2 separate regions of the Homo sapiens genome follow, and region 1 is linked to region 2. Evidence: promoter capture Hi-C in 16 types of primary human blood cells and fetal thymus (Javierre and others, 2016). All regions are on one chromosome and are shown on one strand. The core of a region is centred on a gene start or on the middle of the fragment in contact, and the rest is flanking DNA. Distances in the headings are between cores, read along the strand shown. Region 1 holds the start of ZNF782 (zinc finger protein 782). Region 2 holds the start of HABP4 (hyaluronan binding protein 4).

Region 1 (4,340 bases), core at 1,026-3,525, 400 kb after region 2:
AAACTGGTAACTGGAGGGAACCTACTAACCCTGACAAAGCTGACAGCAGAGTTCATGGTGAAACTGTATATATTTTCCCTCAAGATTTACTTATCTATTTCTCCTTTTCCATTTAATGCAAGGGCCTATCTAAACCTCATAAAATCCATTACAATACAAAGTGGGGAATGAATAAAAAGCTTACCTGAAATGTGTTCATTTTCTGTGGCTCTTGGGAGAGTATAGAGAACTGTAAAGCCTCAGCTGGGGGGACAGAAAGAGGATGTCACACGGTCTCGCCTACCTCACAGCTCCTAGATTAGCCTCCCCAAATCTCAGCAACCCAGTTGGAGAGCAGCCTTCCTAAGGTAACAGGGCCCTTCAGGCCTTGAAAAGGCATGAGAAGCACCACGTAGAGGTGGCACTGTCTACGACAACTCTGAAATAATTATGGGGCTTAAACTGCTGTTTTTTATTGAGTGAACATAAACTTTTCCCAATTGATTTAACAATGCACATGTGCTTCTAACACACACACAAAAATAAAGACAATACAGGATTAGTTGAATTAAAGTACACCACAGGGTAAGACACTATTCTTTCATTAAAATTAACCTAGCAGGTACTGTGGTTCAAGCCTGTAACCCCAGCACTTCGGGAGGCCAAAGAGGGAGGACAGCTTGAGCTCAGGAGTTCAAGACCAACCTGGGCAACATGGCATGACCTTGTCTCTACAGAAAATAAAAACTTAAAAAATTAGCCAGGTGTGGTGGCATGCGCCTGTGGTCCCTGCTACTTGGGAGGCTGAGGCAGGAGGATCACTTGAGCCCAGGAGGTAGAGGCTGCAGTGAGCCATGTTTGTGCCACTGCACTCCTGCCTGGACAACAGGATGAGACTCTGTCTCCAAAACACAAAATTAACTTAGCAGAAAAATATTCAGTGTGCATCATTTAACTATTTTTCTTAGTAATATTATTTACCCTTGGTATAGACAATCCACAGAAAGTCTTATAAAAGAGATGAGATACTTTAAGGCAAAGAGTTTTAGATGTTTTAACTGGGATGTATTTCTCAAAAGGCCCTTTGGATAAGATGCTTTTGGTGACTCACCTGTGAAAGAATGAACGGAACTGTTTTCCTCCTGGCTCTACCACAAACGAGGGATCCCCGGAAACTCACTGAACCTTTCATGCCCAATGTCTTTAAAGCTTTCAAAAGAATCAGAAGTAGATAGCCACGGAAAACCCTTCATGTATCATCATGCATGGGATTCTATGAGGTAGGGACAAAGTCTCCAGTGTCACATATGTTAACAGCAGTATGGCATCTGTAAAGAGTGGAGAACAAAGCGACTGGGGGCTACTTTGGGATCTGGGGACAGAATCTCCGGTTACCCCTACCCTCAGACCTATGCAATGATGTGGCCTTTCCTGAGCAGCCTGTCCCTGGCCACCACCTAGCCCATTTTGCTCTTCTCAAAGCTGGCCCAAACCACCCACTGTCACCCATTGTGTGGTGGCTTCTGGAGGCTTCACCAAGTCTGGCTCATTCTGGGAAGGAGGATCAAGAACTGCTTCTGACCATACACATCTAGGATCTGCTCCTCTGTGGGCTCTTCTGCCTCTGCTCTGAAGCTCGGGAGGGAGGCCTAGGTCTGAGAGGTGTTCTCTTCCAGGTAAAACTGTTCACAGAGACCCCTGCTTCCCACCTCGCAAGGGCTGCTCTGTTCAAGGAGCCTGCGACCTGACCTGAGAAACCATGTTAGTGGCAAAAATCTGACTCTTAGAATTCTTTACATCAGACTTAAAAGAGAGACACCCTGACAATGCAGAAGGGGCCAGGAACCTGTCTGACCCAAGAGATCTGAAGACACACCAGAAATCCAGACTACATTTGACACATGGTAAGATTCCATCTACATCCACTCCCTGAGTATTTGGGGACATGACATTCTGCTAAGTGCTGTGAAGGCTGCAATGCTGGTTTTAGGCAGGTGTGATATTAGCGCCTGAAACGGGAAATAAATCACACCTGCCTTTGAACCCCAGCTCCCTCACTGCTAGCTTGTGACCTGAGCCTCAGTTATATTTAATGCAGATGTGGTTGTGAGGTATACATAGGCACCCAACGAATGGAACAAAGTGTCTTCTAAATATAACAGCAGCAGTCCGCTCATGGCTTAGTAGCCTACAGTCGGCTGTTTGCTTTACAGGTGGTGACTTAAAGTTTTAAACCAACGCCATGAAGCAGTCATTATTAATACCCTCACTTTCAGATGAGAAACCTGACTCTCATCCACGTCCCTACATTCGCCTCGGCTTCCAGTTGACAGAGATGGAACTTACCCGGGTTTTTCCAGCTCCAGAGCTCGGGGTCTCGATGCAGACCCACCGTCCGGGGATTTCGGGCACGTTGTCGCCCGCGTTACAAATGCGCTTTCCCCACCCCCGCCGCCGCTCGCGCCGGGCTCCGGTCCCGCACACCGCGGCCCGCACCCGGCACCTGCTCCGGACCAACGCTCAGCCTCAGCCGCCCCGGGAGCCAGCGGCCGAAGTCCCTCTCCAGCGGCCGGGAAGGCCGAGGGCCCGCCCGGTCGCATCCACTGACACAGGGGGCGGGGATCCCACAAACTTCCCGCTTCCTCTCCCGCTTCCGGGCACAAACGCTGTCCTCCCGCCCCAGCTGCGCCCCCTCTACTTTCCGAGCCGACCCCCGAGCTTCCCAAACCGCTTCCCGGGAGTCTCGAGAACCCAAATGAGGAGGCGGGGCTCTGGCTGCACAGGCGCAGAAGGAGCCCAGGAGCCCCATCCCAGAGTGCTGCGCGGCGAACCAGACTCATTCAGGACTACATTTCCCATAAGCTCTTGCGTCCGCCTTCGACGTGACTCCTCACGTTTCGGCGATTCAGAATTGGCGGGGATGGAGTTTTTATGAAGTCTCCCGCTCAGGCTCTCCAAGAACAGGGAGAAGTTAAAGGTTAAAACTTAAACGCTACTGACAAATACAAAGAGTAGCCCTCCATTGGTTCCCGGTTGAACCAACATTTTTTTTTTCCGTAAGACTTTCGGAGACAATTGGGAAGCTGAATATGGATTGGGAATTGCAAATATTGAAAAAAAGTACCATTACTTTTGTGAACTGTGAAAAAAAATTAAGAATTTTGTAGAAATTTTTTTTTTAAAAAAAGGGATCACTACTGAAGTATTTAGCATTGAAATGATATAACTTTGAATTTACTTTACAATTTTATACATTTTCAACCTGGAACCTCCACCTTGTCTCTTTACAGCCTACCCGACCCATTGACCTGTGAGCCCTGTCCTGGCGCCCCCAGGCGTGAGGGTTCTAAGGCGGGTCGAGCCCGGTGCTGCAGGTGTTAGAGAAAAGCTTTTGGTTTTTATCCCTTAACATTGCTTCTTGCCGAATTCTCTTATTGATTCAACATATTTAAATTTAATGTTAATTATCTTAGGTTTCCATGCGCATTAACGAATTTTCTTGCTTTTTGCTGATTGTTTTTTATTTCCGTAGGTTATTGGGGAACAGATGGTGTTTGGTTACATGAGTAAGTTCTTTAGTGGCGATTTGTGAGATTTTGGTGCACCCATCACCTGAGCAGTATACACTGCACCCCATTTGTAGTCTTTTATCCCTTGCCCCGCTGCCCTCCGCCATTCCCCGCCAAGTCCCCAAAGCCCATTGTGTTATTCTTATGCCTTTGCATTCTCATAGCTTAGCTCCCACTTATGAGTGAGAACTACGATGTTTGGTTTTTCCACTCCTGAGTTACTTCACTTAGAATAATAGTCTCCAATCTCATTCAGGTCGCTGCAAATGCCATTAATTCATTCCTTTTTATGGCTAAGTAGTATATCATCAGATACATACCACAGTTTCTTTATCCAGTTGTTGATTGATGGGTATTTGGGTTGGTTCCACGTTTTTGCAATCGCAAATTGTGCTGCTATAACCATGCATGTGCAAGTATCTTTTTCATATAATGACTTCTTTTCCTCTGGGTAGATACCCAGTAGTGGGATTGCTGGATCCAATGGTAGTTCTACTTTTAGTTCTTTAAAGAATCTCCACACTGTTTTCCATTGTGGTTGTACTAGTTTACATTCCCACCGGCAGTGTAGAAGTTTTCCCTGTTCACTGCAGCCATGCCAGCATCAACTATTTTTTGATTTTTTGATTATGGCCATTCTTGCAGGAGTAAGGTGGTTTTGATTTGGATTTCTCTTATCATTAGTGATGTTGAGCATTTTTTCATATGTTTGTTGGCCATTTGTATATCTTTTTTGAGAATTGTCTATTCATGTCCTTAGCCCACTTTTTGATGGGATTGTTTGTTTTTTTT
Region 2 (4,259 bases), core at 1,481-3,980:
CTTACAACCATTTGGGGCATTTGTGACTTGGAAATGAGGCGGCAGTGCTCACAGGGCATGCTTTAAGAACTTACAGTGGCTGGTTATGCTGTAAGGAAGATAAGAAGAAAACAGGGGAGCAGGCTAACTCCAGATGCCCAGTGGGAAGACGACAGGCCCTTCTCTCACATGATCATGATTCCTTGGTGTTGTGGTTTGGTGATGAGCAGTTTAAAGATACCAAAGATAACTTTAGCTTGAAGCAGTGCTTCTCAAAGTGTGGTCTCTGTTGCATGTAGTGATTCTGGTTCATTGAGATAAATTTACTATTTTTACTCTGGTTCATTAAGATAAATTTACTATTTTTACAAAAAATTTACTATTTTTACTAAATTTTACACAAAATTTACTATTTTTACAATTTTAAAGTGTACAACTCAGTGACATTTACTAAATTTACAATTTTGTGCAACCATCTCCACTATCTCGTTCCAGAACATTTCATCACCCCACAGGAAACTCCCATGCCCATTAAGCAGTTACTTTCCAACACTCCCAACCCCCACACCTGGTGACCACCAATCTGCTTTCTGTCTCTATAGATTCTGGACATTTCATATAAATGGAATCATACAACGTGTGGCCCTTTTTGTCCGTCTTTCACTTAGCACAATGTTTTCAAGTTTCATCCCTGTTGTAACAAGTATCAATACTTCCTTTTTGACCAAATAATATTTTTTGTACCACATTTTATTTATCCATTCATCGGGTGACATGTATATTATTTGTTTCTGTCTTTTGGCTATTGTGAATAGTGCTGCTATGAATACTCATGTACAAGTTTTGGTTTGAACACTTGCTTTTAATTCTTTTGGGTAGAAAGCGTAGGCATTAATCTTTGCTCACTCAAAAGGAGATGACCAAATATCTTAAATTCTTCAATCATTCAACAAATATTTACTGAAAACCTACTCTATAGCTGCTTAGAACGCCAAGCACTGGGAATACATACTGCAGTGAATAAGACAGGCATCATCCCTGTCCTCCTTGGGAATAACACAAAATTCAATAAGTGAGTAACACACAGACTTTACAGCATTTAGGATTAGGAATTCCTTTGCTATTAAGGAAAGTAAAAGCTGGTCACAGAGCACCTGGCAAGATGCTCTAACTGGATGCTTTCGGATGAAACAAGCAAACACAACTAAGCGCAATCACATCTGTCACCTTACATCATAAGCCTCAAGTAGGGAGGTTCCCAAGTGGGTCCAGTCGGCAGCTCAACCTCATCAAGGATCTAGCCTTTCTCTATCCTGCTCTGCCATCCTCATGGCCACGCTAAGGAACAGCCACCCGAGGCATCATGTCTTCTCATGGAACAAAGACCAGGGAACAGAAGGGGGGGAGATCCCTTCTCAATCCCTTGTTAGGTGCAAGAAAAACTTTCCCAGAATACTTCTCAGATCTGTTCTGCCCGATTTGCCCCACAGCCTATTCCTAAGCCAATTACTGGCAAGGAATTGGAATCAGGTGCAATGAATAATGTATGATTAATCAAGTTTGAGGCTGGAAGGGGCCCTCTTCCCCTGGGGAATATGATGCCTGAACAAAATACAGGCTCTGGAAAAATGTAAGAGGGAAAGAACGGCTGTAGGATAGGCAGCCAAGCGTGTCTCCACCGCTGCCTATGCAAAGATTTCCTGGAGGAAGTCCAGTCCGGCGTTCTCTAAGCTCCAGGCCTCAACTGAATATCTCAAAAGAAAACAAATATCCAAACCTCAACGTGTCCCAGACTGAATTAATGATTCCCGTTAAAGTAGTGTCTTCCAGTGGTAACTAATACTATCATTCAGATGCTGGAGCCAGGAAAATAAGAGTCACCGTATCTTCTTCTCCCTCATCACCACCTCTAGCGCATCACCAAGTCTTTGAATCCATCTACTCTCTTCGCCTCCACCGCCACCATCCTAATCCCAGTCACTATCAACTCTTCCCTGGAGCTTTGCAACAATCATGTTTGGCTTCCCAGCATCCATTTGTATTTCCCTCCAAACTATTAGTTCACAGTGCAGGTAGGGTGGCCTTTTCAAACCCAAATCTGCTCATGCTCAAAACTTGCTTCCCACTGCTCTTAGAATAGAGACCACTTTGAGCTTGAATAGGCTGTGCACATCCCACCTCAAGACTGCTGCACTTGCTGTTCCTCCTCCAACCCCTTGTCACCCCTCTCCCTCGGCTTAACTGTCATTTCCCAATTAGGTCAGATCCCTTTGCTGCAGCCCGTAGAGAGCTCTGCGCCTGTCCTTCAGGGCACTTTTTCTCCATCTACAGACTCAGATCTGTGACAACACGGAGCTAGTATTTCCTACAACATAATGCCTGGCACACGGTAAGTGCGCAATATGTAGCTGTTGCACGGCTAAATGTATACATAAGCTTCAAAGCAGAGTGGCCCATAGCAAATACGGTCGCAGTCCCGGGAGAAAGCACACACAGCCGAGACCCCACCGCTTCGTCGGCGCCGCCTGGACCAGCCAGTAGCTCCGCCCCTGGGCCCCGCCCCTCCCTGCTGAGCGAACGGGGCGGGGCCCAGAGGTCGCGTGACGTGACAGCAGCCGGTCGGTGATTGGGTCTCCAGGCGCGCCGTGTCGGAAAGGGGGCGCACCCGCGCGCGCTGACTGGCTGTCTGGCGCAGCGGGGCGGACGGCGGCGGCGCCGCGGGGGCGGGCGCCGGTAGGGGCCGGACAGGGTAGGGCCCGGAGGGCGGTGGCGGCGGAGCGGGCGGCATGGGTCCTGGCCGCCGGCTTCGCTGAGACGCGCTCGCGTGGGCTGCCCTCCCGGGCCCGCAGTGGTCGCGGCGGCATGAAGGGCGCTCTGGGGAGTCCCGTGGCTGCCGCTGGCGCCGCGATGCAGGAGAGTTTCGGCTGCGTGGTGGCCAACCGCTTCCATCAGCTGCTGGACGACGAGTCGGACCCGTTCGACATCCTGCGCGAGGCCGAGCGCCGGCGCCAGCAGCAGCTGCAGCGCAAGAGGCGCGACGAGGCGGCGGCGGCGGCCGGGGCCGGTCCCCGCGGCGGCAGGAGCCCAGCCGGGGCCTCGGGCCACAGAGCCGGCGCGGGCGGCCGGAGGGAGTCGCAGAAGGAGCGCAAGAGCCTCCCGGCGCCCGTCGCTCAGCGGCCCGATAGCCCCGGGGGCGGCCTGCAGGCGCCGGGTACGCGGGGACAGCGGGGTTAGCGGACCACGGCTCGGCCCGCTGTGAGACTGGGGTCCCGGGGGCCGGTTTCAGGAGGAGGGGCCCGGGAACAGTAGGGAGAGTTGAGGGTCCTGGTGGCCGCCGAAGGTAGGAGGAGAGGGGCAGGGGTCACACCCCTTCCAGCTCTCGCCAGCCTCGTGCGGGGCTCCGGGGGAAACGCTGGCTTGGGGTGGGATAGGGCCCTCGAACCCTGGCACTGAGGCTCTACGGCAAGTTGGACGAAGTTGAGGGAGGTTGTCTGGGTGGCGTGTGGGGGCGAACGGCTGAGGTCGCTACCCCGGGGCTCCCACATCCAGACCTGGCGGGGACCTTCATCTTCCAGCCCAGCCTCTGCAAGATTGAGGTCGGAGCCACCCGAGAGCGCGGTGGGGAGGAGGAGGGCGCCTGGTCCCGGGGCTGGGGGCCTCTGTGATGCCGGAGGCCTGGGCGACCGCGGGGCGGCCTGTGACGTCGGGGCCCGGGCGGGGGTCCCCGGCGCGGTCCGGCCTGGCGCCTTCGCCCCTTCTCCGTCCGGTAGCTTCCAGGAGGCAGCCGGCATCGTATTTCAGTACTTCGTGTGGTGTTGATGGGATGTGCAACTTATAAATAGCTCAAGGCTGCTTTAAGAAAAGCGTTTTTAACCTTTCCAGCAAGAATATTCGGAGTTCCCCACTCCCTATTTAGCAAGAAAAACCGGTGCGCAGCGTGGTGTCCTGCTGCCTGTGGACGGGGAGGGTGCTTCAGAGTTCATTCTCTCACCGAACTGCGTCAGTGGCAGAGCCAGCAACACTCCACCTGTGTTTCCTGTTTTCTTGAAATGAGGCAGCGGTCCCAAGGTTTGCAGAGTGTTAGGATTAAGATGTGTAGGTTGACCATTCCTGCCGACGTTTGCCAGTGTGTTCAACTTGGCTTTATTGGTTTGTTCCTTGCTTGATAAAAATTGTGCATCGCAGCCCTGAGGAAACGTCTCAGGTTTAAGTATTAGGGCTTTGATGTGCAGCTGGGTAATGTTTACCTTTATTTGTGAAAAGCTAAATCCAGAGTCATC

What was found. The method cuts DNA at HindIII sites, captures the fragments that hold promoters and counts their contacts. A CHiCAGO score of 5 or more calls a contact.
Region 1: a contact is called between a fragment that was not itself captured here and the fragment with the promoter of HABP4 in region 2, in 1 of 17 cell types (monocytes). The highest score is 5.4, in monocytes.

What each region holds. Positions count from the first base shown.
Region 1 is chr9:96,851,763-96,856,102 of GRCh38, forward strand. ZNF782 (zinc finger protein 782) reads right to left here and starts at 2,752. Exons shown (of 6, transcript NM_001001662.3): 1 at 2,326-2,752; 2 at 1,091-1,307; 3 at 185-243. The coding sequence starts at 199. RefSeq lists silencers at 2,085-2,174, 2,455-2,524. The HindIII fragment of the contact is 2,179 bases long and covers 1,187-3,365 here.
Region 2 is chr9:96,447,439-96,451,697 of GRCh38, forward strand. It overlaps HABP4 (hyaluronan binding protein 4), which reads left to right and starts at 2,731. Exons shown (of 8, transcript NM_014282.4): 1 at 2,731-3,190. The coding sequence starts at 2,842. RefSeq lists an enhancer at 2,149-2,228 and silencers at 2,509-3,048, 3,059-3,118, 3,199-3,248. The HindIII fragment of the contact is 2,057 bases long and covers 2,414-4,259 here.